Regions from separate parts of the Homo sapiens genome. Here regions 2, 3, 4, 5 and 6 are each linked to region 1. The links are contacts of gene promoters, found by promoter capture Hi-C in human tissues and cell types (Jung and others, 2019). All regions are on one chromosome and are shown on one strand. The core of a region is centred on a gene start or on the middle of the fragment in contact, and the rest is flanking DNA. Distances in the headings are between cores, read along the strand shown.

Region 1 (4,907 bases), core at 1,627-4,126:
AGAAATCATTCACTCTCTCTCACTCTACCTGAGGCTGCATTTCAGATTGGAGCTTCCTGATGGAAGAAAAAGGGGAGGGGGAAGAACAGAGAGAGAGAGGAGAGGAAGTTTAATTGGCTGACTCTTATCGCCCATGTGGTAAATAAACTGGCTGCTCCGAACTTTGCCAACTCGGGAGGAGACGGGCCCTCCTGGGCTCCCTGCCTTAGCTATGGCCCGGCCCCCTGTCAGACAACTTCAGAATGCAGCGCTCCTGCAAAGCTCTCAGAAAGACCAGTGCCTGGGGAAGCAGCAGGGGCTTTGGGGGTTCCAACCTCTAGGTATGATTATTCCAGAGCACGACCAGAAACATCCAGAGATCACAGCCACCCTTTTGACAGAAAGGCTGTGACTCACCCGGAGGTCACAACACACTTTTAGGGGCCAAACTTTGTCCTCTGCTTCTGCTACTCGGCGTCTCTGCTAAAGGCATTCAACAGCTTTCCTCCGGCACTGGCCTGGGAGCACTGGGGGTCTAACTTGAACACCTCATGCTGAATTTAGAGCAAGTGTCTTCTTGTCCTGCCTGCAGCGTGAAGCCAAGAAACGGCTCTGTTTTGCCCCAGGCCTACCCAACACATAAGCAGCGTTGGTGAGGCCTGGATGTCAAGATGCCTGGGTTCCTATTCCGGCTCTGGGTATAGCTTACCATGTGACCTCGGGCTGCTGTTGCCAATCCTTGAAAATGGAAAAGAGGGCAGCCCAGGTGGTCTCCAATGTGCTGCTCACAGTTAGGAATAGGGAAAGGGGTTGTCTCCAGGGGTCCCCTGATGGGGCCACCCAAGAGGTACAGGTGCCCCTTAGCTGAGAGAGACCTGGCTGGCTTTATAAAGTACCTGCCCCCGAGGCACTGGCAGTGGTGGACCGGGAAGGGCACACAGACATCTCCAGGAAGCAGTGTTTAAATGTTGGCAATGCCCTTCCCTTCCAGGAGGAATGGAAGAGGAGTGTCCCAGACACTGGGACAAGGAGGGAAATAAGGGTGAAGTAGAGAAATGGCTGGGGCAGGGAACAGTTGAGTGCTACAGAAAAACTGAGGCAGACAGGATAGAAGATGGGTCGGGGTTGGGGGGGACGAGGAAATGGTCATTGGTGGGCAAAGACCAAAGGATGTCACTATGGGTGTAGAGGCCAAGTTTCAACAAGGGCTGTAGACTAGGGGCAACTGAGGGGGACGGAGTGGGCACTGATGGACACATATACGGGATACAAATGAAGGACAGAGAGTCGCGGTGGTTAGGGAGGAGCCTTTGGGCCCTAGGGCAGTGGTGATGCTGATATAGGGTATTGGCGCTGACCAGTGGGAGAAGAGGATGAGATCCTGAACCTGGGTGGAGAGGGAGAGAGAGCTGGCAACAGCCAAAGCCCTCAAATGAGCCGCTGCCTGTGCTGGGGGCACCTCGGCCAGCCCCAGAAACCTGGGGAGTGCTGGAATCAGCCCCACGGAAAAAGAAGCTGGCATGCGCAACCCTGGCGACGCCCGAAGGGTTTGGAGAGAAGAGGTTCCAAGGAGCGAGCACCTCGGAAGACCTGAGCAGCTTCAAACAGCAGCTTCTCTGCCCGCCACAAGGGGGTGCCCTGCACCTCGGGGAGACCTCGGGGGATCCTGGATCAGCCCTACCCTCTGCAGCCCCGCCTGGGACAGGGCCCGACGTTGCCAGAGAAGAGGCAGCGGGGAGGCGCGAGCGAGACGGGTCCACACTGTGCCCACCCAGGGCTGCCCGGCACCCCGCGCGCCCACGCAGTCCACTCTTCACAGTAAACGCCGCGGCCCCCGAGGGTTAGCCCTAAGTGGCGCTCTCTTTGGACGTTAGGCTGTCGGGGGCCCCGTCCTTCTTCCCCAGCGGGGACGGTGTCTCCGGAGTCGGGTCCTAAGGAAGAGAGCAGCGCTGGCTCTCGCTCACCGCCAGCCCGCCCGACGGCCATAGGGCAGGGGGGGTCGCGCCGGTGGGGCCGGCAGGGGTCCCTGTGGGCCGCCTCCCCGGCTCAGAGGGGACCAGAACCGTGCGTGTCGCCGCGGCTGGAGTCAGCCTCCGGGTGTCCCCGGACGCGGCACGACCTCGCACACACACACCGCGCGCACACGCTCGCGCCGTGCGGTATTTTCCCGGCCCCGGACCCCGCCTCTGGGAGGGGCCGGGGAGCCGAGCCCCGCTAGCAGGGTTGGGGGACCGGGAACGCCTGGGTCCCAGCCCTCGCGTCAGGGCTGTGCGCCACCTTCCCAGCCCCTTTTGGCGCGCCGGCTCGGCCCCTGGCGCTGCCACCCCTCGGCCCGCGGGGGTCCCGGAGGCTCCCGGGCGCGCGGCGGACGAGGTTGTGGGGACGGGTGGGAGCTGCGGGCTTCGGGCCGAGAGGCGGCTCGGCTCCGCGCCGGGGAAAGTTTGGACGTGGGAAACTCCCTCCCCGCCCTCCCGGCCGAGAGGAGGGGGCGCGCAGGGCCGGGCGCAGGCACCCCGGCTCCTCCTGCGGCTGGAGGCTCGCCCCCCGCGCCGCCTGCCCGGCCGCTCCCGCCGGCCAGGGGGCTCCCTCCCTGCCGGGCAGCCTCCCCTCGGCGGCGATCCGGCCGCTCCTCCCGCGGCACCCCGCGCTCTTACCTCGGGGAGCGGCCCGGGGCTCCCCCTAGTCCTGCCGCCTCGGGACGCTGCGTGGGGCGGGAGCCCCGGCGCGGGCAGCGGGCGAGTCCGGAGCCCCGCGGCCGCCCGCAGGAGCCGGAGGGAGAGCGGGAGCGAGAGGGGGAGCCGCGGCGGCGTGTGCGCGCGTGTGTGTGAGCGAGAGAGCGAGAGAGCGAGAGAGCGAGGGAGTGAGCGAGCGAGCGGGAGCGAGGGAGTGTGCGTGTCTGACTGGGGGGAAGTGTGCAAGGGACGGATCCCTTCCTTCCTCCCGCAGCCTCTGGTGGAGACTCGGAGAATGCAGGGCCCGCCGGGCAGGAGCCGCGCAGCGCCAAGCCGCAGGCGGCCGCCGGCCCGGACCCCCGCAGCCGGGGAACCCCAGCCCCCGCCCCCCGGATCGCGCCCCTCCTACACCAGGAGGGGACAGCCTTTCCCTCTCTCGGGCGGCCCAGTCCCAGGAAACCCCCCAGGGGACAGTGCCCCTCCCTCCTCCAACCCCAGATCCGCGCGAAGGGAGCGCCCCCAGGAGGGGGACCATCTACCTCCTCGCCTGGCAGCTCCCCAGGTGGCCGCAGTTTGAGACCAGAGCCTATTTCCCCACCTGATTTTACTGCGAATAGGGCTTCCCATTTCCGCCCCCTGACTACTGCGGGAGGCCGCCTTCAGAGGAGCAGGGGCGCAGGCCAGGGTAGGAGCAGGCTTCTCGAACAGTGGCCGCCCCGGCTTGCTGCCCAGAAAGGCACCTTGCACAGACCAGATCTGCCAGTTCAGAAACAGTCACTGTGCATTGAGGTGGACACCGACCAGGTGCCCAGGGCTGAGTCTCCAGGCAGGTGGGAGGTCGGGTGTCCCCGGGAGAGAAACTTGTGGGCTTTTCCTCTGGAGAGTCCCGCTGGACATCCTTGCAACCAACAAAGTAAGCAGGCAAAACAAGACACCTCCATCCTTAACTTGGTGCCACCTTGACCTGGAGAAGTCTCCCAATAAAATCTTCCCACTGCCCAGAAACTCCTTGCTGGTTGGGTTTTCCGTTCTTTTAAAAATCCGGCTGGTCTGCTCCCTGATGTTTTTTCCACCTGGCCCTGTTTCTTTCTCCTGGCTGCCTGGCTCTCCTTACTACTTCATCTCTCTGGGATGAGGCCTAATGGAGGAGACCCTCCCACCCCACTCCTGAGTTCCCAATATGAGGTCGTTGATGGTAGGATAGGACCAGTGACTCCCATAGACCCACCCTTTGTCTTGGGTTGTAGGTCCCCTTAGGAGTTGCCCGCCCCCCTATTCCCCATGGCTTCCAGATAGGTGAGTGAAGGATAACAGGAGACTGGACAGCTGCAGACCTCTGTCCCGCCAAGCTGCCAATGACCAGCCATTTAATCACCCACAAGCAGCTGCTGAAGTTCATGGCAAAGAGGGGGCAGGGCCCTCCAGGACCCCCAGCTCTACCTCGCCCCTATCCTTCTCTCCTCCTCGCCTCCTTCCCCAATTTCCATCTCCATCTCCACACCCTAGTCCGTCTTGCTGATGATTGGAATCACCTCTCCTGCTGGCTGCCCCTCTGGCCCCTCCTACTAAACTCCATCATTCATTTATTTATTTTGAGATGTATTCTCCACTGTGCCAGTCTGTTCCCTCCCCTACGTCCTTCTCTTGGTTTATTTCCCTTCATTGATCTCTTCCAGCCTTGCCTTTCTATCGCCTTCCTTTTCTCCATCTCTCTCTTCCCCTCTCCTCTCTATTCTTAGCCTCCACTCTTTCATGCTTTCAGAGACCAGAGGCCAGCCTTCCAGGTGCATCTCTTCACTTTTGGTTCTCTCCTCCCGCTCTGACTCACTTTTGCTGTTTGCTCCAGTTCCCATTCCTTCTTTGCCTCTTCCTCCAGGCTCTGGTGTGTGCTGTTCATCTCTGGAGTCAGACCTACTTAGTTGTCCACAGGTTGTTTTGGTCTGGGACACTGTTGCTGTCACATCTGCATGCACACAGTAGGTGCTCAATAAATGTTATTGAATGAACTGTTGTCACATCTTTCTCTTTTGCTCTGGTCTCTCTCTTCTCTCTCTTTTATTTTTATTTTTTTTTGAGATGGGGGTCTCACTATGTTGTCCAGGCTGGATTCCTGGACTCAGGTGATCATTCTGCCTCAGCCTCTCAAGTAACTGGGACACCAGGCATGTGCTGCTGCACCCAGCTCCCCATGACTCTTTATTAGACCCTCAGGTTTTCCTATCCCAATGTTTCCTATTTTCAGGCTCATTCTACCGT
Region 2 (4,907 bases), core at 1,596-4,095, 200 kb before region 1:
GAAAATCACATAGTTAACTTAGTCCTTATAATAACCATGTGAGCTCTTAGGCTCATTTCACAGAGAAGAAACTAGAAGTTAAGAATATGCTCAAGGACACACAGTCAGTAACAGAATCAGATTTTGGGCCAGGCCTATGACTTCAGAAATTACACTTTTACTCATCGATCGATGCTGCCTCCTGCTGCTAGTTCCTCATTTGTAAATCAAAGTGCCTTTGCTGTATTCTCCCAGAAACAGAAACTGAGACAAAGATTTGAGTGCAAGTAGCAAGTAGTTTCTTTGAGAGGTGACTCCGGGGAGCACTGATGGGGTAATGGGGAACTGAGACAGAGAGGAGAAGGAAGCCATTACAGGGTGGGTGAATGAGCAGGTTACACAGTGGGCAACTGTGGCTTCACCTTGACTGGACAGACAGTGTAGAACACATACCTTTTAGTTATCCCAGCTGCGGGGAAAGGCAGCTGCGGCATTGATCCACCAACTCCTCATCTGTCATTGGTAGAAGGCTGCATTATCTCCAGCCCTTCTGGCCTGCCCTCTGAAGGGCTAAACATGCTCTTGTGGCCAAAAAAGGCTCTGGGGCAGAAGGTCACAGGTGCTTGAGATAGGGGACAGGAAGAGTGGGAACAGTGAATATGGAAGGCCTGAGGGTGGAGTACCAACAAGGTGCTACATGGGGATTGGATTAAGTCCTCTTTCTGCTCTAACCAATTAGTGGCTAGCGGTGCTAGTACTAGGTATTATTAGGTATTTTTACATCATAAAACCTGAAAGCATAATGACTACAATCTACCAGAGCAGGGATCCCCAACACCCCGGCTGTGGACCGGTACCAGTCCGTGGCCTGTTAGGAGCCGGGCGCCCAGCAGGAGGTGAGCGGCTGGCTAGCGAGCATTACAGGCTGAGCTCTGCCTCCTGTCAGATCAGCGATGGCATTAGATTTTCATGAGACTGCGAACTCTATAGTGAACCGCGCAGGTGAGGGATCTAGGTTGCGTGCTTTTTATGAGAATCTAATGTCTGATGATCTGAGGTGGAACCGTTTTATCCAAAACCAGGAACCATCCTTCCCAACCCCTCTATCCGTGGAAATATTGTCTTCCACAAAACTGGCCCCTGGTGCCAAAAAGGTTGGGGACTGCTGTACCAGAGCCTATCTGTAGAGGAGAGACTGGAGATACAATTAGACATCTGAGCTGATTTTCAACATGGATGACAGAGTAAAGGGTTAATATTCAGGGCTGGGATTTTGTCTAGTTCACGTGACCTAGTAAGTGCTCAATGCATATTAGTTGAGTGACTACATGATTGAATAAAGTTAATATGAAACAGACAATTTAATAGAAAATGGACAAAGGATATATACAGTTAGTTCACAGAGGAGGATATCCAAATGGTTGATAAACATTTGATAGGATCCTCAACTTCCCTAATAATTGAGGAAATGTAAATAAATGCAGCAAAGAGATCTCTCTCTTCACCATCAAATGGTCAAATATTAAAATGAATGATAACATTTAGTACTGGGGAGAAGGCAGAGTAAAGGTCCCTTCAAACATATGAATTTCCCAAGGTTTTTGGAAAGTATCTTTAAAATATCTGTTAGCATTTACAATATAAATACCCACAAATTCCTTCTAGAAATCTATTGTATAGAAATAAAAACACACGTGCCTAACCATACGTGTAAAAACATTGTTGCAGCCTGCTTTGCAGTAGAGAGAACCTGGATGCAACCTGAATGTACATCAACAGGAAAATGGTTAAATTGATTGTGACAAGTCCACACCATGGAATCTTACACAATTATTTTAAAGAAAGAATGTGTACGATCTGTATCTACTAACCTGGAATTATTTCCATGATATATTATTAAGTGACAAAAATGACTGCAAAAAAAGATAGAGATTCCTTTTCTTATTAAATGAACAAATATATTCTTAAATGTGTAGACAGATATTTATCAGGCTATTATGGGGAGAGAGGTGTAAAGATAGATAAAGAAAAAAAAAATACATGCCAAGGCGGGAGGATTACTTGAGTCCAGGGGTTTGAGGCTGCAGTGAGTTATGATAGTGCTACTGTACTGCAGCCTGGGTGACAGAGTGAGACCCTGTCTCCAATAAAAAAAATAGGAAAAGAAAAGAAAAAATAAAAATAGGAGTTTATAAAGGTGGAAATAATATACGTGGTCTAATATTATAGGAAAATGTAAAATAGATAATCTATTTATGATATCCCTTGGAAAGAAAAATCTGAAGGTCCCTATAGGCAAGGATTAAAAGGTGGCACACGCAAATGTACAAACCAAAATGCTGATTTCATTATGAGATGGGACCATGGATTTTTTTGGTCTGTAATAAAGCGCCTGTTTCATATTTATCTTGAGTGGGAAAGTCTCGATTACTCACTGGGCTATGGCTGCATGAAAATATACAGAATTGTATCTCTAGATCCTGATTCTCAAAGTGCTTTTTTCTTTTCCCCAGCTAATTCACTGGGCAGAAGTTGCCTTCTAATGGGTCTTTCTTCACGGTCTGGCATTTTTAAGGCAATCAGAACTTTGAGGATGTTTTCCCTGCATTATTGGGCCAAAAACTATCTGCCCTCTCTGGTTCTTACGTTTGGTGTGTGCCCAAAATTAGGAAGAGCAAGGGGAAAGGAGAAAAATGTCATCCTGCATAGAGAACAACAAGTTGTGCCGAGTGTTCTGAGGGAACATTGCAGGGCAGATGGATTGTTCTGGATGTTCAGGATGTGTACCCTTCTTACTTGAGGGGAAGGAGGGCAGGAGGCTTGACAAGGAAGCCAAGGAGGCATAGAATGTGCGTTGTAAGCCAAGTGTGGCCACTCTGATTCCTTTCCCAAGACTTTGAACCTCGAAGGAGTGATGCTCAAGTTCAGGGGTAGTTAGAGATTGTGTTCATTATCTATTGCTGGGTAAGAGGTTGACCTGAAACTTAGTGGCTTGAAACAAGAAAACATCTATTATCTCACAGTTTCTGTGGGTTAGGAATCCAGAAGCAACTTAGCTGGGTGGTTCTGATTAGATCACCACTGGGATCAATGTGTCAGCTGGGGCTGAAGTCATATGAGGCTTGACTGCTGCGGGAGGGTCCACTTCCACTTCCACTTCCACTTTCACTTCCTATGTGGCTGAGGGCTGGAAGCTTTGAATCCTTGCCATATGGACTTCTCCATAGGCTGCCTGAGTGCTGAGTGTCCTCACGACATGGCAGACAGCTGCTTCCCCAGAGGGCCTGGAGACAGTGCAGGGGGTGGGGGAGAGGGGAGAGAGAGAGAGAGAGAGGAGAGAAGAGAGAGAAAGGAGAGAGAGAAGAGAAGGAGAGAGAAAGAAGAGAGAGAAAGAGAAGAGAGAGAGAAAGGAGAGAGAAAGAAGAAGGAGAGAGAGAAGAGAGAAAGGAGAGAGAGAAAGAAGAGAGAAAGAAAAGAGAGAAGAGAAAGGAGAGAGAGAAAGGAGAGAGAAGAGAGAGAAAGAAGACAGAGAAAGGAGAGAGAGAAGAGAAAAGAGAAGAGAGAGAGAAGAGAGAGAGGAGACAGAGAAGGGAGAGAGAAAGAAGAGAGAGAAGAGAGAAAAAGAAGAGTGAGACAGTGCACACATAAGATGGAAGCCTCAGTCCTTTTATTTTTATTTAATTTTTTTGTAGAGATGAATTATTGCTGTGTTGCTCAGCTGGTCTAGAACTCCTTGCTTTAAGTGATCCTTCCTTTCTTGACCTCCCAAAGTGTTGGAATTACAGGCATGAGCCACTGCACCTGACCTCAGTGGGTTTGTAACCTAACCTTGATGTGACCTACACTCACTTCTGCTGGTTTCTGTTGGTCACACAGACCAACCCTGGTACAATAAGGAAGGGGACTACATAAGGGTGTGAAGACCAGGAGGTAGGGATTGTTGAGGGCTGTCTTGGAGGTAGGCTGGCACAGAGATGGTTTATAGAACTTTTCTGTGGCAGAGTCTCATCTATTCCCTGCCTCCTGTGGTTTTGCCTGGGTGCCTCCCTTGAGCCTTCCTGTCGGCTCTCTGGGCTGCCCAACACCCTTTCAATAGTGTCCTCTTTTATTTAAGTTCACTGCTACATCTTCTCTTGTTTGCAAGGACAACTCTGATTAGAACAGGTGCTACAAGAGAGGACAGTGGCGGGGGAGGTGGGTGGGTAGCAGAGGAAACTCATTTTAGATAAGATGGTCAGGGAAGGCCTCTCTGAGGAGGGGCCACTTACCCTGAGACATGAATGGTGAGGAAGAGTCAGCAGATGAAAGGTGGGAGGAGGGGCGTTTTAGACAGAGGGGGCAGCATAGCCAAAGCTCTGCGGTGGGAACCAAGGTTGCCAATGGCCAGGTCACGCAGCCTCTTGAGGTCACAGTAAAAACTTGGATCCTTTCCCCTGCAACCAAAGCATCTCTTCTTCCAAACATCAGAGTCTGGGAGGGCTGAGGACCAGGCTCCAGGCCTCATTGTGCGGGGATCAGATCAGCCGAGTAAGTGGCTTTAACCAGATAAGGATCAAGACATTCTCTGCTTTGTTCTCGCATCTGTTTTGCCGGCTCTTGGGTTTTCCAAATTTCTGCTTGGGTTCTTTTCTGAGTTTCTTAGTTCCCTTTGATAAATTCCCACGTGATACTGGTGAGCTAAAGGGAAAGCTTTTTGTCCATAGTTAGGCCTGGGAATCCCAGCTAGAGAGCCCTGTCATCTTATGGAGATGGGCTGCTACCCAGGACGGTGTGGGAATGGGCAGGTGGGTCTGAGGGATCCCTTCAGCCTCATTACTCTATAGTTCTGCGTTTATTCAACAAATACCTGTTCAGCATCTGGCAGGTGTTCAGACTCTGTGTGGGTGTTAGGTTAAGAAGATAAAGGAGGCACTGTTCCTCCTCTCCAC
Region 3 (4,907 bases), core at 741-3,240, 180 kb before region 1:
ACTTCACACTTGGCAGTGATCTGGTTCTAAAGACACAATTTTCCATAGTTTCCTAACACCATCCTGCATGCCACCTGCCTTATTTCCCCACATCACATCGTCCCACTTAGCGGGACTGCACTGCTGATCCAAATTTTACATCCTTTAGGGCCCACTCAGGTCATATGTCCTCAGGGAAGTCTTTCTGGAAGAACCTTAAACCAGAGGTTCTCAACAGGGGGCAGTTTTGCTCCCTGTGGAACGTTTGCCAATGTCTGGACACATTTCATTCGTCACAAACGGAGAGGGGGATGCTACAGGGATCTGGCGGATAGAGGCCAGGGATGCTGCTGAACATCTGCAATGCATAGGACAGCCCACCCCCACCCCCACACCCCCAGTAAATAATGATCCAGCCCAAGTGTCACTGGTGCTGACGTTGAGTAACCCTATCTTAAGCTGAACTCATCATCTCTCCATTCCAGCCTTGGTGGATTCTGTCTCCTCTGAACCATTCCCATCTCACTTTAGCCTACCTAGATCACAAAGCTTGGCACTCATTATAGACTCCCCTATTTATTACTCCTTCAAGATGTGCAAGAATCTTTTCTCTGCACTTTTAAGTTCTGTAAGAAGAGTCTGTGTCGTTCCTATAATAACCAGCATAGGACGTTGCACGTGTTGTGTGCTCAGTGAACCTGGATTTGTTGATTGTTGACTGACTCACTCTAGAGTTGGAAATCTTATGCTTGGGGAAACTTAATATCTCTTTCTTTCTCTGTGTGTGTGCATTTGTGCACGTGTCTGTGCATAGCTGTGAGACCAAAGACCTGGTTGTGCAACAGGCAGGCACAAACAAGACTGATGTTGTCTGTGGTGAGTCCTGGACAATGGGCCCTGGAGAAAGCCTAGGAAGGTGGGAACTGAAGGGGGAGATGAGGCACACAGGAACACTGGATGGGAAAAAGGGGAGGGGAGGCAGTTTGGGGGTGTGGTATCACAGCTCTGCCACTTATCTTGGGAGTCTGGGCAAATCACTTCCCCTCTCTTAGCCTCAGTTTCTTCATCTGTAAAATGGGATGATAACAGCACTTCCTTAGTAGGTTTTGATTTTAGAGTGAGAAGGTTGGCCTACAGTAAAGATCAGATAATGTAAATCAGTGAAAAAGGTCAGGGGTAAGAAAATTACATTCTCTTTACCTAACGCTAAATGACCAGTTAATGGGTGCAGCACACCAACATGGTACATGTATACATATGTAACAAACCTGCACATTATGCACATGTACCCTAAAGCTTAAAGTATAATAATAATAAAATTTAAAAAAACGAAAAATACATTCTCTTTGCTTTTTCTCAAAATGTACTTTCCTCTTTGTAGGGCTGGGACTAGAATGAGGTGAGCAAGGCACTTGCCCTCGGGCGCAATATTTAAGAAGGTGCCATAAAAGTGTAGTAATCAAGGTAAATTCATTTTGATGCAATATTTTTAAAAATAAAAATTAATGCAAAGAAATCCATGATGAGCAAGATAGCAACATTTTAAATAAAGAACAGGATCCGACCCTGTGTTTGCATGACCCTGCCTCACTCACCTCACCCTAATCCTGGCCCTGGTTCCAGTAAAAGGAATAGGCAGCCAGCCTGCAGGCCGTAGTTTGCTGACTTGGTGTCCGCCTGATGATTTTCAAAATATGGCATTAAAAGAATGTTTACCTTGATGACTGAGTGTTTTGGACATCCTTTTCAATTTTGTCCTGAAACAATTTCATCCCTTGCCTCACGCTAGTCTCCGCCCTGCCTTTTGGTCTTTCTTTTATTTTCCCACTTTGAAAAAAAAATTCGGCATGAGAAATACTTTACCTTTCCCCTCCACTCTTCTATACCAAAAGCAACATGCAGACATGAATCATGCTAGACCTCGGCATTGGGCAGAGAGCAGGGAGTGGCGGGGAGCATGGTGAGCAGGTGGTGACAGCCACTGCCACCACTCGCTTCTAGATGGTTCCCAGGTGGGGAGGCTGCCAACTGGAACCCAGTCTTCCCAGTTTGTAAGAGAAATCAGATGTCTAGGTTTGAATATGTGATCTCCCAGTTTAAAAATGTCGGCAAATATTTCCAAACGTTAAGAAAATGTTCTGGCTCCTTTAAAGACATCTGCCAGCCACATTTCCCCAAGGACCGCGGTTTGAACCTTCTGATGTAGATGAGCTCTGACATTGGAAGATTCTGGAGTCTGACAAGTCACAGCAGGTTGAGGGTAGGGAGAAACTGCAGGTGAGGGGTGCATGCTGAAGTCCTGATTTCTCCAGGTCCCCAGGATCGGCTGAGAGCCCTGGTGGTGATCCCCATCATCTTCGGGATCCTGTTTGCCATCCTCTTGGTGCTGGTCTTTATCAGTGAGTCCTCAGGTGGGGAGGTGTTGGGGGAGGGAGGGGAGACCACCTGTTTCTTATCTGGCCTCTCCAACTCCCCATCCTTTTTTTTTTTTTTTTTTTTTTTAGAAAAGGTGGCCAAGAAGCCAACCAATAAGGTAGGTCACCCCTGAGAACCCGGGACAGAGTTTTGACAAACTGGGAAGATGGCCTCACGGTTGCCTATGGGGCAGTAAAACTGATTCAGAGTCTGTCTCTGCAGCCAGTGGGGTGGCAGCAGAATTGGGGACTGTCATCCCCACCCACCATGCTCCTTCCATCCAGAGCTCAATCCCCCACAGAACTGCCCCTGGCACCACTGGCAGAGCCTAACACTGGCTGTTCTTCACTCCTTTCCTGGCATTCAACGCGTGGGGAGCTGCATCTTTGGGCCTTGGGGCTGGGTCAAATGGGTGGGAGCAAATGTGGCAGCCCCTTAAGCCCACTGGCTCCCACTCTGGAAGCTCTTCGTCGCCCTTGGTGTGGCCAGCAGGGGGCAGGAGGCACCCGAGGAATCAGCACTGACCCGCCGTCTGGGAAAGGGGGGAGGGCTTGGGGAAGGGATCCGCTTCCCAGGGAGGGGCTCCTCAGAGGCACAGCTGCCCCTGCTGCTGGGGGTGACCTCACACCTTGCCTCTCCAGGCCCCCCACCCCAAGCAGGAACCCCAGGAGATCAATTTTCCCGACGATCTTCCTGGCTCCAACACTGCTGCTCCAGTGCAGGAGACTTTACATGGATGCCAACCGGTCACCCAGGAGGATGGCAAAGAGAGTCGCATCTCAGTGCAGGAGAGACAGTGAGGCTGCACCCACCCAGGAGTGTGGCCACGTGGGCAAACAGGCAGTTGGCCAGAGAGCCTGGTGCTGCTGCTGCTGTGGCGTGAGGGTGAGGGGCTGGCACTGACTGGGCATAGCTCCCCGCTTCTGCCTGCACCCCTGCAGTTTGAGACAGGAGACCTGGCACTGGATGCAGAAACAGTTCACCTTGAAGAACCTCTCACTTCACCCTGGAGCCCATCCAGTCTCCCAACTTGTATTAAAGACAGAGGCAGAAGTTTGGTGGTGGTGGTGTTGGGGTATGGTTTAGTAATATCCACCAGACCTTCCGATCCAGCAGTTTGGTGCCCAGAGAGGCATCATGGTGGCTTCCCTGCGCCCAGGAAGCCATATACACAGATGCCCATTGCAGCATTGTTTGTGATAGTGAACAACTGGAAGCTGCTTAACTGTCCATCAGCAGGAGACTGGCTAAATAAAATTAGAATATATTTATACAACAGAATCTCAAAAACACTGTTGAGTAAGGAAAAAAAGGCATGCTGCTGAATGATGGGTATGGAACTTTTTAAAAAAGTACATGCTTTTATGTATGTATATTGCCTATGGATATATGTATAAATACAATATGCATCATATATTGATATAACAAGGGTTCTGGAAGGGTACACAGAAAACCCACAGCTCGAAGAGTGGTGACGTCTGGGGTGGGGAAGAAGGGTCTGGGGGAGGGTTGGTTAAAGGGAGATTTGGCTTTCCCATAATGCTTCATCATTTTTCCCAAAAGGAGAGTGAATTCACATAATGCTTATGTAATTAAAAAATCATCAAACATGTAAAAAGAAAAACGGGGGTGAACATGCTGGGTGACATGAGCTATTTAACCTGCTGTCAGGCTCACGGAATGAGGGCATTTTCTGTAGATAAATAAGAATGTCCCCAGGCTGCTGCCCCTCCAGGGTGGTTTCCATGTGTGCTCACATGTGGTATTGAGATTGCAAAGTGCTCTTCCCATTTGATTCATGTTCACAAAAATAGCCTTCCCCAGCAGGGTGGGTCTGCATCCCTCCCTCTTTTACAGAGGTGGAAATGAGGTCCAGAGAGGCGAAGTGACTTGCCTGTGGTCACACAGCGGTGTCTGGTGGTGCCATGCTCAGAGCTCCTCACTCTGGGTCCTGAGCTCCTCCCAGATCTGCCTGCTGTCTGGAACTGACATCTGTAGCTCCTTCCCAGGGAGATCCTGGGTCTCTCACCGCCTTCTGACCTCCCTGTGGCTGCAGGAGCTACTGCTTCTCGGTCAGATGGTATCCCCTTCCCCCAAGCAGTATCTCAGGATAAAAATAAACCATCCTGTTCTCTTTTCCTGCTGAGCCAACTGAGGGGGAGCCTAGCCAGGAGGAGCGGCAGATGGAGTGGGAGCAGAGGGGAGGGGAGGGGAGGAAGGTTGGAGGACAAGGAGGAGAAGGAAGAGCAATGCAAAGTGCCATGCAGAACCCCGGCACAAAGGTTCGAGGTGAGGTTTAACCCAGGGGTCTCAGCCTTTCCCAGGAAAGAACCTGCTTTGGATTTCCCCAACACATCCTGCTGGCTGGAGGGTGTGGGGCGATGGGGGGCAAGGGGAGATGTGGAGAGGGCTTATCCCAGTGGAGGCTGTGAGGGCAGCTGCGAGCCAAGAGAGGGGCACCTGGCTTGGCAGGCTTCCCAGAAGAGCTTCAAGAACCATTTGGATACACCAGG
Region 4 (4,907 bases), core at 781-3,280, 170 kb after region 1:
GAAACCCCGTCTCTACTAAAAATACAAAAATTAGCTGAGTGTGGTGGCATGTGCCTGTAATCCCAGCTACTTGGGAGGCTGAGGCAGGAGAATCACTTGAACCCGGGAGGTGGGAGGTGGAGGTTGCAGTGAGCCAAGACCATGCCACTGCATTCCAGCTGGGGCAACAGAGTGAGACCGTATCTCAAAAAAAAAAAAAAAATGGAAATCAGAGTCAAAGCACACTGAACCACACATTGCTAACTAGGGAGAAGAATTTGAATATATTGTAACATCAGTAAACAATTATATATATGTATATACTCACCTATATCCAGAATGTATGGCCACCATGTAGACCGATGAGGAGTCAATAGCCAGAATAATCAGATCATGCTGATCCAAATCCACATCTGTAGGAGTTTAAAGTCTTATATAGAGGCCTACCACCTCTGCAAGATGCCTTGAAGTCTTTTTGCTCAAATTCTCCCTTTGCATGTTGGGGCTAAAGCAAATCTAGAACAAAGAATTATTGTTAAGACTAAGTGTAAAGTATGTGAAGTATAAAGAGCAAAATGCTAAACAGACAAAGTCTTCAATAGATACAATAATTGCATAATGTATTGCTCTTTGGGGGCAAATCAGGGTGCAAATAATTTCACCAATTGGCATAAGCTTCTATCACCTTGGTTAAATTAGGAGCTATGATAACCCCCATCAATAAATGGTAGTTTAGTGAGAGAGACAGAGAGAAGAGAAGAGGGGGTGAAGGGACAGAAAGGAACAGAAACAGAGGCACAGATAGATTATCAAAGTTGACAGGAGCTTCCAGTATCATCCAGTACTTATTCTCACCCTGTGATTTACATGCCCTAAGGAAACTGTGGGTCTATTCCAACAAGTAAAGGAAACCACAGGATTTACTTGGCATATCTCCTTGGAGGATAAATTGTACTTAATGTCACATAATAAAAGCCATTACTATTCTATGAAAAATATAAATATGGAGTAAATCACAAAATCATTCATTTTAAAAATAAAAACTAACCTTTTCAGCAAATGGTGCTGGAGCAATTGGGCATCCATAGACATAAAAAACCAAACCTTGACTTAAACCTCAAATTTTATACAAAAACGAACTCAAAATGAATCATGGACATAAATGTAAAACTATAAAACTTTTAGGAAAAAATAAAAATCTTTAGACTGGAAACAAAAACATGATCCATAAAAGAAGATATTTATAAATTAGACCTCATCAAAATTAAAAACTTTTGCTCTGTGAAAGACAAGTGAAGAGAATGAAATGACAAACTACAAAGTGGGAGAACGTATTTACAAACTACACATTTGACGAAGGGTTGGTATCTAATATATACAAAGACCTCTCGAAACTCAACAGCAAAAAAAGAAAAAAAAATCCAATTAGAAAGTGGGAAAAAGACATGAAAGGACATTTCAATGACAAGGATATACAGATGGAAAATAAGCACATGAAAAGTGTTCAACATCATTAGCCAGTAAGGAAATGCAAATTAAAACCACAGTGTGATATCACTACATGCCTATCAAAATGGCTAAAATAAAAAACAGTAACACCACTACATGCTGGCCAGGATGTGGTGAGACTGGATCACTCATACATTGCTGGTGGGAATGTAAAATGGTACAATCACTCTGGAAAATAGTTTGGCAGTTTCTTATGTGCAATTCCTCTACAACCTGGCAATTTTACTAATGGGCATTTATCCCAGAAAATAAAAACATATGTTAGCACAAGAACCTATACACTAATTTTCATAGTAGCTTCATTTGTAATAGCCCCAAACAGGAAGCAGCTCAGATGCCTTTTAAACAAATGGCATACATCCATACCACGGAATACTATTCAGCAATAACAAGAAGCAAATTATCAATACATATAGTGACTTGGATGAATCTCCAGGGAATTATGTTGATGATAAAAACCAATCCCAGAAGTTATATACTGCATGATAATATTTATATAACATTCTTGAAACGATAATATTTTAGAAATGGAGAAGAGATTAGTAGTTACCTGGGACAGGAGAGAGACTGGGGAGGCAGTGGGTGTGGTTATTGAAGAAGTTAATGTGGGTAACACCAGAGATCCTGGAGGTGATGACAGTGTTCTGTAACATGACAATGGTGGTGAATACTAGAACCTACATGTGATAAAACTGTATAGAATTAACACACACATACAAATGAAGTAAAGCTAAGGAAATATGAATAAGATCGGAGAATTTTATCAACCTCAATATCCTGGTTTTGATATTGTACTATCATTTTGCAAGATGTTACCATTAGGCAAAACTGGGTAAAGGGTATATGAGGGCTCTATTTTTTCTTGCAACTGCATGTCAACCTACAATTATCTCAATACAAATGTCAATTATACAAAATAGAAGTTAGATTTAATGTCTTTCTTTTTTATATGTGCAGTCTCAGGTTATACCTGCAGAACCATATACTTGTATTATGCTGCTGACAAAAAAGTGTGAAAGAACCCAATGCCTTCATTTTAAAGATGAGTCACATAAAGGTTAGGCGACTATCCAAGCTGATAAAGCTTGTTTATATTAAGCATTTATCATGGTTTCTGCCTTTCCATAAGTTATAATGATGGAGAATTTTATGGCAATGTTAAGACGTCCAGTCCTGGGTTCAGACAACTTTGGGATATATCCTATCAGGATTCAAACGGTCTCACCATGTGATCTTAGAAAAATAATGTTTGCATTTTCTACTCATTGAAATGAGATAATAAAATAATCCCATACACCGATGGGATTTCAAGATACTGAAATAAAATAATTCATGCTGGTACAGTGGATGCGTGATAGGAGACTCTCAAAATAATGCCTGTTTTCCGGCATATTAAGTGCTGGACACTAGAGCTAAAGGCTTTGAATACAAAGAGATAAAAGGTACAGCTTCTGCTTCCATAAACAGAGTCTAGGAGAGAGAATAACACAAAGATAATTGCACAGATTAAAATGTGAAAAATAGGAGAGTACAGGGAATTGGTGGTTGATGAGGCTGGATAAGTAAATGCAGCAGGTGAGGAAGGCACCTTTTTAGGAATCCACACTTTGGCTAGGTTTATGTCATCAAAGAGCCTAACAGCCTGTTTTTTTGTTTTTTGGTTTTTTTTTTTCACGTGACAGGATCTTGCTTTATTGCCCAGGCTGGAGTGCAGTGATGTGATCATAGCTCACTGCTGCCTCAAATGGTGGGGCTCAAGTGATCTTCTCACCTCAGCCTCCCAAGTAGCCTGGACTATAGGCACATGCCACCATACCTGGAATTTTAAAAGTGTTTGTAGAGACAAGGTCTTGCTATGTTGCCCAGGATGGTCTCAGACTTCTGGCCTCAGGAAATCCTCCTGCCTCAGCCCTGTAAAGTGCTAGGATTACAGGTATGAGCCGCCATGGCTGGCCGAGAGCCTGGTCTTTTAGAGTTAGATGGATTTGAGGATGGAGCTCAGTGCTATCCCTCACCAGCTGTGTTACTGTGGGCAAAATTGCTTATTTTTCTAATCCTCCCTTTTCTCAACCCCAAAATAAGAAGATTGCAATAGAATAATTCCCTCTAGGGTGGCTGTGTCAGTTAATGAGATCATGAATATGGACATGCTTAGCACTCAGTATCTTCCTGCAGCTTGCTAAAATAGCCACAGTGTATGCAAAAATGTAAATATCTTTCGGTATAACTGGGCTACAAATGATGGTAGAAAACATAATCATACCACTCCAAGGTCATTTCACATCTTCATGTTTAAAACAGACTATTCTGAAATAGTCATTTGATTGAGAAATTAAATTATCTGATTTCAACATTCACATGTGCTCTCTGGTACATTCTCTCCTCTCAAGCACTCTCTCTCCCTTTCCTCTGATTTTGTCTCAGAATTATAGTTGTCAATGAAAAGAGTCAAACCCTGTAAAACATTTGAAGAGATTTATTCTGAGCCAAATATGAGTGACCAATGGCCCACAACACAGCCTTCAGGAGATCCCAAACACATGTGCCTAAGGTGGTCAGGCTACAACTTGGTTTTATACATTTTAGGGACACAAAAGACATTAATCAGTACAAAAAAGATGTACACTGGTTCAGTCTGGAAAGGTGGGACAACTGGAAGGCAAGGGCTTCCAGGTCATAAGCAGATTCAAATACTTTCTGACTGGCAATTGGTTGAAAGGATTAAGTTATTACCTAAAGACTTAGAATCAATGGAAAGGAACGTCTGGGCTAAGGGGTTGTGAAGACCAAGTTTTTATCATGCAGGCAAAGTCTCCAGGTAGCTGGCTTTAGAGAGAATACATTATAAATTATTCTTATCAGACTTAGAGAGTCTGTTCTCTCAGTAATTTCAAAAGGGAGGAGGGTATAATGAGGCATGTCCGACCCCACTTCCCATCATGGCCTGAACTAGTTTTTCAGGTTAACTTCGGAATTTACTTTGCTGAGAGGAGAGGTCCATTGCAGTGGTTGGAGGGCTTAGAATTTTATTTTTGGTTTACATAGTCTTTGTGCAGGGGAACACTTAACAAAAAATGAAGGAGCAAGGGAATATGTGTCAGGTCTGGGTGCTGGTGGCTGGGCCCTGCTGGCTTCTGTAGGGGCATTTCACCCCGTTGGGTCTTTGGTTTAGGCTTCAGTCCTGCTGCATCCCCTGCTGGGGTCATTTGGTCCCCCTGGCCTTTGGATGCAAGTGAGCATCTGGGCCCACTGTCCTCCTACAAGGCCTCTGGTCCAGATGTCCTCACCCTGTGCTCACCTCACCCCATCCCTGGCCACCCTCAGTCTCTGGCCCTCTGTATCAGTTATTTATTGCTGCTGGAACAAATGCCTGCAAACTTAGTGGCTCAAAATAAAAACTTTTCTTAGAGGTCTGGAGG
Region 5 (4,907 bases), core at 663-3,162, 160 kb before region 1:
AGTGAGACTCTGTCGCAAAAAAAAAAAAAAAAAAAAAAAAAAAAAGATTCCATACAACTCCAAATGATGGCTGTTTGACTATTTTTTCTTCACATCACGGATCACCCCTGCCGTTATACATCCATCTGTTGATTGTCTTTCCCCCTACTAGAAAGGACAAGGACTTTGTGCTGTTCACTGCTGTGTCCCCAACAGCCAGAAGAGTGCCTGGCTCACACAGACACTCAATAAATACGTATTGAATGCATGACTTTACTGGCCTGTGTCCTCTGCTTACTGAGTTATTGAAAGTCAGGGACCTGTTGGATTCATCATTGCGTCCCCAGGGCCTAGCACAGAGCTTGATGCACATGCTGTTTAATAAATATTGAAAGAATAAATGAATGGAAAAACGTCTTCCCCAATGTGTTACACACTCCCGCAGGGCCGGGACTATTTGATTTATGTATCTAGCGCCCAACACATTGCCTGGCAGAAAGCAGACCCTCAATAAAGGTTTGTTGAGCTAGACAAGAGTCTCTTCTGCATGCGGGCCCTTGTCAGGCCTGTCATGGGAGCTCAAATAAAGGCAACCAGACCCTATACTACTGGATCAGGCAGAAAGAGATACCTTGTTGGCAAAGGATCTTAGGACCCTGGAGTCATAGGCTGTGCAGGCAGGATCAGCCTGCATGTGTAGGGTGGCCAGAGAGACCAAAGAGGGCTTCCCGGGGGTCAGGAATCCTGCCTTTGTTTATGTCCCCTAGCACTGCCCTTCTCTGGCAACTGGCAGGCAGCCCCACCAATGAGGTTTGGGCACAGCTGGGGGTGGAATGGGATGGGACAGATGGTGGGAGACAAGGAAACCCCCATGTTTTCCTCCATCTGTTACATTTAATTGACTTCCCGCAGAAAGAAAAAAAAATAAACCAGTTGCAAGGATGAAATTGCTAATTAAAAGGCCCTCTGATTAGATAGACAAATATTTACCAATTATGCCTGACCCTGCCTGTCCCCTTTTACGTCTGCGAACTCCCCCATCAGCACTGTGGCCACATCATACCCAGCTGGTGGCTCTTCCACCAATCACTCTCTTGGGGCTCAGACTGGCTGCGGGTGAAATAGGGTAGAAGAAAGGTGAATACTGCAAACAGCCGTTCAACAAACGCGATGCCTGTTGCATGGTCAGGCTTAGTGCTGGGCCCCTGGAAGCCATAGCAGAATTTCCATGGACAGCCTTTCAAGTTGTGTGCTGCACAAAGGTGCACCTGCAGGAGAGTGGGGGCTCCCCCTGTCAACCTGGGACCCCTGGCACCAGGCAAGGGGGATTTTTATTTTCTTTGCGCAACGGGTCATTAGCTTGCCAAGCTGAATCCACAGGATTTTGCCTGCCCAGAGGGGGTACCTTTTTCTAATTCACACAGAATGGGCTAGTGGCAGCTCTACAGAGATGAAGATAGTTCAGTTCCTGATCCTCAAGGGCTCTAGGGATAGTGGGGGAGAAAAATATGCCTATGATGTATAAACATTCATGTGTGATTTTTTTTCTTTTTTCTTTTCTTTTTTTTTTGAGGACAGGGTCTCACTGTGTCACCCAGGCTGAGTGCAGTGGCACGATTACGACTTGCTGCAGCCTTGAGACCCCTCTCTCCCCAGCAGCCTCCTGAGGAGCTGGGATTACTGGTGTGCATCACCATGCCTGGCTAATTTTTCATTTTTTGTAGAGACAAGATCTCTCTATGTTACCCAGGCTGGTCTCGAACTCCTGGATGCAAGCAATCCTCCTGCCTCAGCCTCCCAAAGTCCTGGGATTACAAGTGTGAGCTACCATGCCTGGCTTAAACATTCATTCAATAAACATTTCTTGTTTACTGGCCACTAATGTTTGCCAAGCACTGTACTAGATTCTGGGAGAGAGAGAGATGAGTAATATATGTTTCCTGCCCTCCAGAAGCCGGGCTATTTGGGGGAGACAGAGATACTTACCTGGGTCTGCCCTTCCTTTTTCCCCTTCCCTTTTTTAATTCCAAATAATCTTCACCTGGGAGGTATGAATAACCGCTCTGGACTCTCACCATTCAAATCCTGGCTTTACCGTGTCTTGGCTGTGTGACCTTGGGCAAGTTATCTCACCTCTCTCTGCCTCAGGTTGCCTCTCTGTAAACTGGAGATAATGGTAACTGCATCCCAGGGTTATTATAATGATTAAATAAATTAGCACATGGAATTCATGCCTGACACGGAGTGCTCAGTAAAGGTTAGCTATTGTGTGACTGTTTCTTTTTTTTTTTTGAGTGCCTACTGTGTGCCAGGCCCTGAGTCCTGGGGATACAGAACTGTTACCAGTTCATTTCCTCTCCCTTCAGAGCTCACAGTGCGGAACACACAGAGAAACCCACCAACACACAGGCAGGCTCACACATACTCAGGCCTTGCTGAAAGAAAGTTGTGGTGGCAGGGTGTGGTTCTAGAATGAATGAGTCTTAGCTTGGAAGTCAGAAGATTTGGGGTTGTCTTAAGTCCAAGATAGGGAAACGGAATGATTGCCTGGTAAGGTAACGATCTCTACATCACTGGAGGTATGTAAACCAAAGTGTGAAGTTGCCAGAGAGAGGCATCTTGGCTGTGGGAGAAAAGTAGGTCAATTCTGGTACGATCGTCCCCTCCTGGGACAGTGAGACAAGCTTCCCAGGACCAGCTGGGGAGCCCTAGAGAAGCCCGGCACTGGCAATGTCCTGAGAGTCCATTCCTGGAGCCAAGGGACCCAGGCTTCCTACCGTGTATGTCCATTTCCTGGGCAAGGCACTGGATGGCAGGACTTTAAGCAGAGGCAGGAAAGGGCAACTTCCAGCCTCTTGCAGAAGGCCTGATTGCGGGGGCAGTCAGTTGGGATTGCTCAGCCCTGAAGCAGAGACTGAGAACCCCGCCTGCCTGTGTGACCACCATCCATGTCCACTCCCTCTCTGAGCTTCAGTTTCTCCACCGGTAAAATGGGAAGAGAATGGACCAGAGAGTATTTTTCTCCCATTCCCAAATTACAGAGTTTTTTTTTTTTTTTTTAAGACAGGTCTTGCTGTATCACCCAGGCTGGAGTGCAGTGGTGTGATCATAGCTCACTGCAGCCTTGACCTCCTGGACTCAGGTGATCCTCCTGCCTTAGCCTCCCTAGTAACTGGGACTATAGGCACAGGCCACCATGCCTGGCTAATTTTGTATTTTTATTTTTTGGTAGTAACAGAGTCTCCCTGTGTTGTGCAGGCTGGTCTCAAACTCCTGGCCTCAAGCGATCCTCCTGCCTGCCCTCAAGCGATCCTCCTGCCTTGGGATTACAGGTGTGAGCTGCCATGTCCAGTCCACAGACAACATGTATTGAGTGCTCACTACATGCCAAGCACTGGGCTAAGCCTGTTGCATGTAGCATCTTGTTTACATTTCACAATAATCAAGGGGGCAGGCATCTGCCTGCTTTACAGATGAGGAAACCAAGGCCCTCAGCAGTAAAGTAAATTTTCCAAGTTCACTCAGCATGGGAATGATAGACACAGGTTTGTAATCCAGGTCTTGTTGACATCGAAACCTGGGATGCTAGTAACCCTACCCTGCTGCCTGTCAGTCCTGCCAGGCTTTCCAGGACGGCCCCCACCCTGAGCCACATCCCCAGGAACACTCTGCCACTCCCTATCCCCCTCCTGGGCTCATACCATGAAAGCCCCATGCAGAGCCTGCTACTCTAGAGGGATATATATTATCTAAATTTGATAAGACAACTCAATTTCACTCCGTGTCTGTTACCGGCGATAAAACCAGGAGACTTTTATGACCCAGCATCCTCAGCAAGATTGTCAGGAACTTATTATACAAGGTCTAACTGGATTTCTCTCTGCAGATGGCTGGGAGCCATGGGCTGGAACGCAATTCGGCAACACATTTGGGGAAATAAATGCAAAATGCTTGTTCCAGAGACTTAGATAAGGCAGCAGGCCTCCAAGCTCCCCAAGAATCGGATCTGCTTTTCCTGGGCCCTGAAGGGCGATTTGGGGAGGATTTACGCTGTCGGAGGAGGAGGGAATGGCGGGCTCTTTCTCCCCTCATCCCTTGACTCTTCTTGCCCCAGGGAAGGAATGTGAGCGCACCTGAGACTTGGAGTTCAGCAACTGTAATTCCCTGAGAGGTAGCAATTCAGAGTAGACCTGGGGGTGGGAGGACAGGATGGTGGGCAGTGGTGAGACCAAGGTTATGAGGACTGTGTGCATTGAAAGAGGGGTGCAGGATGATCAAAACGATGGGGAACTGGGTCTTCACTAGCTGCTCGGGATCTGCCATAGAGTCACTCCTTACTGCCCTGAGAGGCCCGCGTCCTTCCCAAACACACCTCTAGGACTGGTGTGGCCCCCATAAACTGGGTTCCCAAACAGACCCCATTCCTTGGATGTGAGTTCACATCCAGATTCAGATGACCCCCGTACATAAGCTCACAGATACTCCAAGATTTTGAGGTTCACTGTGAGGGCGCTCCAAATTCATGGCTTACCTCAAATTCTGATCTCTCGCAGGCGTGGGCTCATAGACGGGCTTGCGGTCCATCTCAGCTTTCACAGCATCCATGCGATTTTTGCCATTGGAAGGAATGGCAACAACCACATTCACTTTTGCACCCACCTAATAGATCTGCCGAATCTTGAGGTTGGAGCTTTACAAGAGCCAGCCCCAAATTCAGGGTTCATTCTCTAGTGCAGACATCCCCCAAACCTCTGCTCACACACAGATCTGGCATAACCCCAGATTCAGTTAGCTGCCCAAGCTAGACTCCAGCCCTCTAGCTACCAGCAGCATCTGAGAGTTACCCCCTCAACAAGCTCATACCAAGCCTTGAGGATCTGGCACCTCCAGTCCCAGGCTCCGGTCCTTGTGCAGGGAAGCTGCTGCAA
Region 6 (4,907 bases), core at 1,048-3,547, 140 kb after region 1:
GCAAGCCCCATACATGTTTTGTTGGATTTAAATTTAAGTACTTTGGTTTTTGATAAATTGTAAGTGCTACTGTATTTTAAGTTTCAGTGCCCATGTGTTCCTTGCTGGTATAAAGAAATACAACATATTCCTGCAGTCTAGCTGAAGTCACTTATCAGCTCTAGGAGTTTCTGTTTTTTGTTTTATTTTTGGTAGATCTTTGAGATTTCCTACTTTGATAAGCATGTTATCCACGAATAGGGACAGTTTTATTACTACCTTTCTGATCTGTATGCCTTTTATTTCCTTTTCTTACCTTATTGCATTGGGTAGAACTTCTAACACTGTTTAACAATAATGGTAAGAGCAGTCATCCTTGCCCTTTTCCTCTTCTCAGGGGTACAACCATTCAGTCTTTCACTGTTAAGTATGATGCTGGCTGTGGAGTTGTTATAGATGCTCTTTAACAAGTTAGGACAAATTCCCTCTATTTCTCTTTTTCTGAGCATTTTTAAAACCATGAATGGGTATTTTGTGAAATGCTTTTTCTGTATTGATTGGTAAGATCAATTTTCTTTTGTATCCAGTTAGTATGTTGGATTATGTTGACTGATTTGTGAATAGTAAAACTGCCCTGCATTCCTGCAGTAAGCTTCGCTGTGTTACAAGATCTTTGGGGTGTTGCTTTTCTGGCCAGAAACCTCTGTGGCCAGTGGTGCCTTTGCCCAAGTTTTGTTTGGGCTCACTGGGCTCATTCCGCCCACTCGGCCTGGCAGGCTGTGCTCAGCTCATGCTACCAGCCTGGACCCCATGTCTGCCAAAGGCAAGTCAGGCATGGAGTGGCAAGGGGTGTGTGAGTGAGCGTGGGGTCTGGCCACTGTGCAGTCAGACATGTCAGCTGCTGCAGTGGGGTGGGCAGCTCCAGGTGCTGGCACAGGCACTAGTCCTCTGTGAGGCTGTGGCTGAGCCAGGCACACTGCACGCAGCTTCCACAGCTGGTACTGGGGAACAAAGTGGTGCCTGGAGGCTTGGAGATGCCAGGAACCACAGGGCTCCCAAGAAAGAGTCATAGCCCTGGCTTGGGGAGCTCCCAGGTCTGGGCTTCCCGAAGGGCCATAGCTATTCTTTCTTTCTCTTCACCCTCAATGTAGTGAGCAAGGGGCATGTTTCAACCCTGTTTGTGTTACAGCTCTTTTAGCCCTACCATTCAATGGGTCCCAAGTTCTTGTCCTATAACCAGGAAGAATGAGGTACCCAGACAAGTGGAGGGTGAGCAAGATGAAAAGGAGCTTTACTGAGCGACAGAACAGTTTGGAGGAAACCCGCAGTGGGTAGCTCCTTTCCACAGCCAGGGTGTCCTGATGAGTGTTCAGCTCCTAGCAAAGAGGAGGCCCTGGAGTGGGAAGCTCCTCTTTGCATGCAGGTGGTCACATTGTCTCTGCAGCTCTCAGCAGAGAGGAGGCCCTGGAGTGGGTAGCTCCTCTCTGCTGTTGGTCATCCTAATGTCTGCTCAGCTCTGGTTGAGCGCAGGGGTATTATGGGCTTCAGAGGGGGGAAAGTGTATGCCAACTGGTCCATGGGCAGGCCCAGAAAAGGCACCACAAGCTCCCACTCTGGTCTGTGGGGCTGGCAGCCCGACGCCAGCCTTCAGGCCCTCCCTGGCCTGAAGGTGGGGCCTCACTGGGGACCTGCCCCCTTCTGCCCAGGAGCCCATCTGCCTCCTGCCACTGCACATGGCACCCAGGCTGCTCACAGCAAGGGGCACCTACAGGCCAGGGCAAGCCGCCCTCAACTTCGTCATTGTGTATACTTTTTTTTACATTGTTGAATTCTACTTGCTAATTTAAAAAAATGTTGCATCTATATTCATGATATTAGTCTTTTGTTTTTTGTACTATCTTTTTTTTTTGGTTTGAGTATCAGATTTAGTACTAGCTTCATAAAATAAATGGGAAAGTCTACTCTCATCTTCAATTTTCTGGAAGAGATTTTGTAGAATTAGTGTTAATTCTTTTTTAAACTTTTGGTAGAATTGTCCAGTGAACTCTCCTGGTCTAGGAGCTGTTTTTAAATTTTAGTTTTAAAATTACAAATTCAACTTTTAAAATTCCATTTCATACTGGGTGAGTTGTAGTTTTTGAGGAATTGGCCTGTTTAATTTAAGCTGTCAAATTTATGTGGGTAGAGTTGTTTGTAGTATTCCCCTACTATCCTTCTGATGTACACAGAGCCTGTAGTGATATCCCATTTCATCCTTGATGTTTCATTCCGTTTCACCCTCTTTCTTTTCTCTCCTTATTACTGGTTGTGGGAATGGGAATTCCAGCTTCTCCCTAGGCCTCTACTAAGACCTCCCTGACTTGGGGGACAGTTGGGTGGGGCGGCTCATGACTGCTCCCCAAGGGGCCTCCACTGACACAAGGGGTGGTGGCCTCATTACCACTAGTTGGTGGTGAAAGTCCTGATCCCCCTCTGGGTTTTCTGGTACACTGCCCCAGCAGAGCAGAGAGGGGCACCTCATGACTGCTGGATGGGAGTGGAAGTCCAGACTCCCCCACTGTCTTCACTGATATTGCAGGGAGCCCATGGGGAGAGTTGGGGTGCCTCTTTACAGCCTGGTGTGGGTGGAATTCTAGGATCTCCACCTCTGCCTTTGCTTGTGTGAGTGTGGGTAGGGCCACAGTCTTTCTGTGGTGTTCGGCTGGAGTAGAGAGGTTATTGTCTCAAGGTTTTCTGTCTCGTAAGGCTGCCCATTTTCTGCTTTCTGTTTTGTTTTTGCTTTGTATAGAGGGAGTAGGCTTTTGATGGGGCTTTTCCCCCCATCTCAAACACTAGAATTTCCAGGTCGCGAGCTTCTTCAGTTCTAAGTCTGGGATATATGAGGCAAAATGAAAGCCAGGAGAATGCACTATGCGGTCCCAAGTTTCCTAGCTGGTCTGCCTTCTTTTCTCAACTTTTCAGAATATTTTTATACTTGCTTTACATACAAACTAAATCTACTGAAAAAATACAATAATCAAAATAAATGGATGGGCTCAATAGCCAATAGAGGAGACAGAGGAAAAAAAAATCACTGCACTGACAACTATAACTAGAGAAATCACCCAGACTGAAAAACAGAGAGAAAATAAATGGAAAAAAATGAATGGAGCTTCAGGGACCTGTGAGACTATCACAGGGTCCAGTGTTTGTGTCATCGAACTTGCAGAAGGAGAAGAGAAAGAAGACAAGGCTGAAAAGGTATTCAAAGAAATAATGGCTGAAAGTTTCCCAAATGTTCAGAGTTTTTAGTTGTCCTTACTGGGAGGAATAGGGAGAAGCGTGTCTGCTCTATCTTCCTGAAAGCTAAAGAACCAAGCACTGCTGGATGGGGACCCAGGGTCTCCAAGCTGAGAAGAACACTGATAAGGCATGCACGGAAGCAGTCCTGGGAGGACTCTGCCACAGGCACAAACACCACTGGACACCCAAAGTCATACTGCTGGGCGCTGGAGTCCATTGCTTCTTCTGAGAAGAATCGCTAACTTTTCTCGGGTCTTTGTACCTTTAGCCCCTGATTCAAAGTCTTAGGGAGGCTCACCTAAGTGGCCAGTCGCAGGGAGTGTGCCCAGCCCTGCCTGTCAGCAGGTGTGGAAAGGAAATGTACAGCATTCTGCAGCATCCCTGGTGGAAGCTGGAGCCTGTCTTCCATTAAGCCGTACTCACTGTGGGATTCCTCAATTTGTCCAATTAGGAGGTCAGTGCATGAGGTTGCTGTACCCTCATACCCCCGCAACACTCAGTTTTACTGAACTTCCTAATATTTGCCAATATAATAGGTGTAAAATTATATCTCATTCTTGCATCAATTTGCATTTCTGGGATTATTAACATTTGTGAGCACCTCTCATATGAGTGTTAGCTTTTGAGAGTTCTCATTCTGTAAATTGCCTGTTTATATCCTAGATATATTTATGTTTACTGTGCTTCTGAATGGGAGCTTATTTTCCTGAGTCTTACAGACATTTGAGACAGTTACATTATAAAAGTATATTGCTGAGTGAAGGGATAATCATAAGACATAGTTCTTTAATAATTCCAGATTTGAAAAACAACCATATTAAATGTTATTATTTGTGGGAGGTGAGATTATCTGACATTTGTTTCTTTTTCTTCTCTTCTTTCTTCCTCTTCCTCTTCCTCTTCTTCTTCTTCTTCTTTTCTTTTTTTTTTTTTTTTTTTTGACAGAGTCTCGCTCTGTCACCAGGCTGGAGTGCAGTGTTGTTTCTTCTTTTGAATGGATACATTCAACTTTACCTGAGCTCTTTGCTCCAGGAAAATAGGAATGGATAAGAAATGCTCCACTCTTGTGTGTTTCAGGAAATGGTTAATTGCAAAAAACACGCCTTCCCTATATGGCTTAGACCGCCCTTCCCTTAATGACTCCCTTGTGTTATAAAACCCCAAGTCTTTTTTAAACATGTTTCTAATTAATGAACATTCTCTCTATTGCAGTAGCCTACATACAACCATCTCCTTAATTGTCAGGTGCATATGTCCTACACACATTTTATTTTTTTAAATATAATTTTCATACATAATGATTGCAGTTTCTATAAACTTTTGAAAAGTACTGGTCAAGTATTTTGTAGAATATCCCTCAATTTGGGTCTGTCTGATGTTTTCTCATGATTAGGCTAGAGTTATGCATTTTGGGAAAGAATGTCATGGAGGTGATGTATCCTTCTAATCACTTCATATCAGGGAGCATATGATATCCACATGACTTGTCACTGGTGTCATTAACCTTATCACTTGGTTCTGGTAGTGTCTGCCAGGTCTCTTCACTATGAAGGTACTATTTTCCTCTTTCCATACTCTATTCACCAAATATAAGTCACCAAGTGCAGCCCATACTCAAGGGGAGGGAATAAAGCTCCTCTTCCTTG

What was found. Contacts are between HindIII fragments. The study calls those that stand out against the background at their distance.
Region 2: a fragment that was not itself captured here is called in contact with the fragment with the promoter of CDH22 in region 1 in 7 of the 25 tissues and cell types used here (H1 embryonic stem cells, bladder, dorsolateral prefrontal cortex and 4 more).
Region 3: a contact is called between a fragment that was not itself captured here and the fragment with the promoter of CDH22 in region 1, in 3 of the 25 tissues and cell types used here (dorsolateral prefrontal cortex, hippocampus and pancreas).
Region 4: a contact is called between a fragment that was not itself captured here and the fragment with the promoter of CDH22 in region 1, in 1 of the 25 tissues and cell types used here (adrenal gland).
Region 5: a contact is called between a fragment that was not itself captured here and the fragment with the promoter of CDH22 in region 1, in 1 of the 25 tissues and cell types used here (dorsolateral prefrontal cortex).
Region 6: a contact is called between a fragment that was not itself captured here and the fragment with the promoter of CDH22 in region 1, in 2 of the 25 tissues and cell types used here (dorsolateral prefrontal cortex and spleen).

Annotation. Positions count from the first base shown.
Region 1 is chr20:46,305,622-46,310,528 of GRCh38, forward strand. It overlaps CDH22 (cadherin 22), which reads right to left and starts at 2,877. Exons shown (of 12, transcript NM_021248.3): 1 at 2,634-2,877. The HindIII fragment of the contact is 29,361 bases long and covers 1-4,907 here.
Region 2 is chr20:46,108,326-46,113,232 of GRCh38, forward strand. No RefSeq gene overlaps it. Among named protein-coding and RNA genes, the nearest start is that of CD40, 7.5 kb to the right of the region's middle. RefSeq lists enhancers at 71-390, 471-520. The HindIII fragment of the contact is 5,271 bases long and covers 211-4,907 here.
Region 3 is chr20:46,125,847-46,130,753 of GRCh38, forward strand. It overlaps CD40 (CD40 molecule), which reads left to right. Exons shown (of 9, transcript NM_001250.6): 6 at 794-855; 7 at 2,292-2,378; 8 at 2,484-2,512; 9 at 3,036-4,012. The coding sequence ends at 3,194. Among named protein-coding and RNA genes, the nearest start is that of CD40, 10 kb to the left of the region's middle. RefSeq lists an enhancer at 4,074-4,223. The HindIII fragment of the contact is 3,703 bases long and covers 140-3,842 here.
Region 4 is chr20:46,474,194-46,479,100 of GRCh38, forward strand. It overlaps a transcript of ZNF334 not described here. Among named protein-coding and RNA genes, the nearest start is that of ZNF334, 37 kb to the right of the region's middle. The HindIII fragment of the contact is 5,642 bases long and covers 1-4,851 here.
Region 5 is chr20:46,145,106-46,150,012 of GRCh38, forward strand. No RefSeq gene overlaps it. Among named protein-coding and RNA genes, the nearest start is that of CD40, 29 kb to the left of the region's middle. The HindIII fragment of the contact is 4,601 bases long and covers 1-4,213 here.
Region 6 is chr20:46,444,346-46,449,252 of GRCh38, forward strand. LOC105372633 (a long non-coding RNA gene) reads left to right here. Exons shown (of 4, transcript NR_146919.1): 4 at 1-626. Among named protein-coding and RNA genes, the nearest start is that of ELMO2, 40 kb to the left of the region's middle. The HindIII fragment of the contact is 7,481 bases long and covers 1-4,907 here.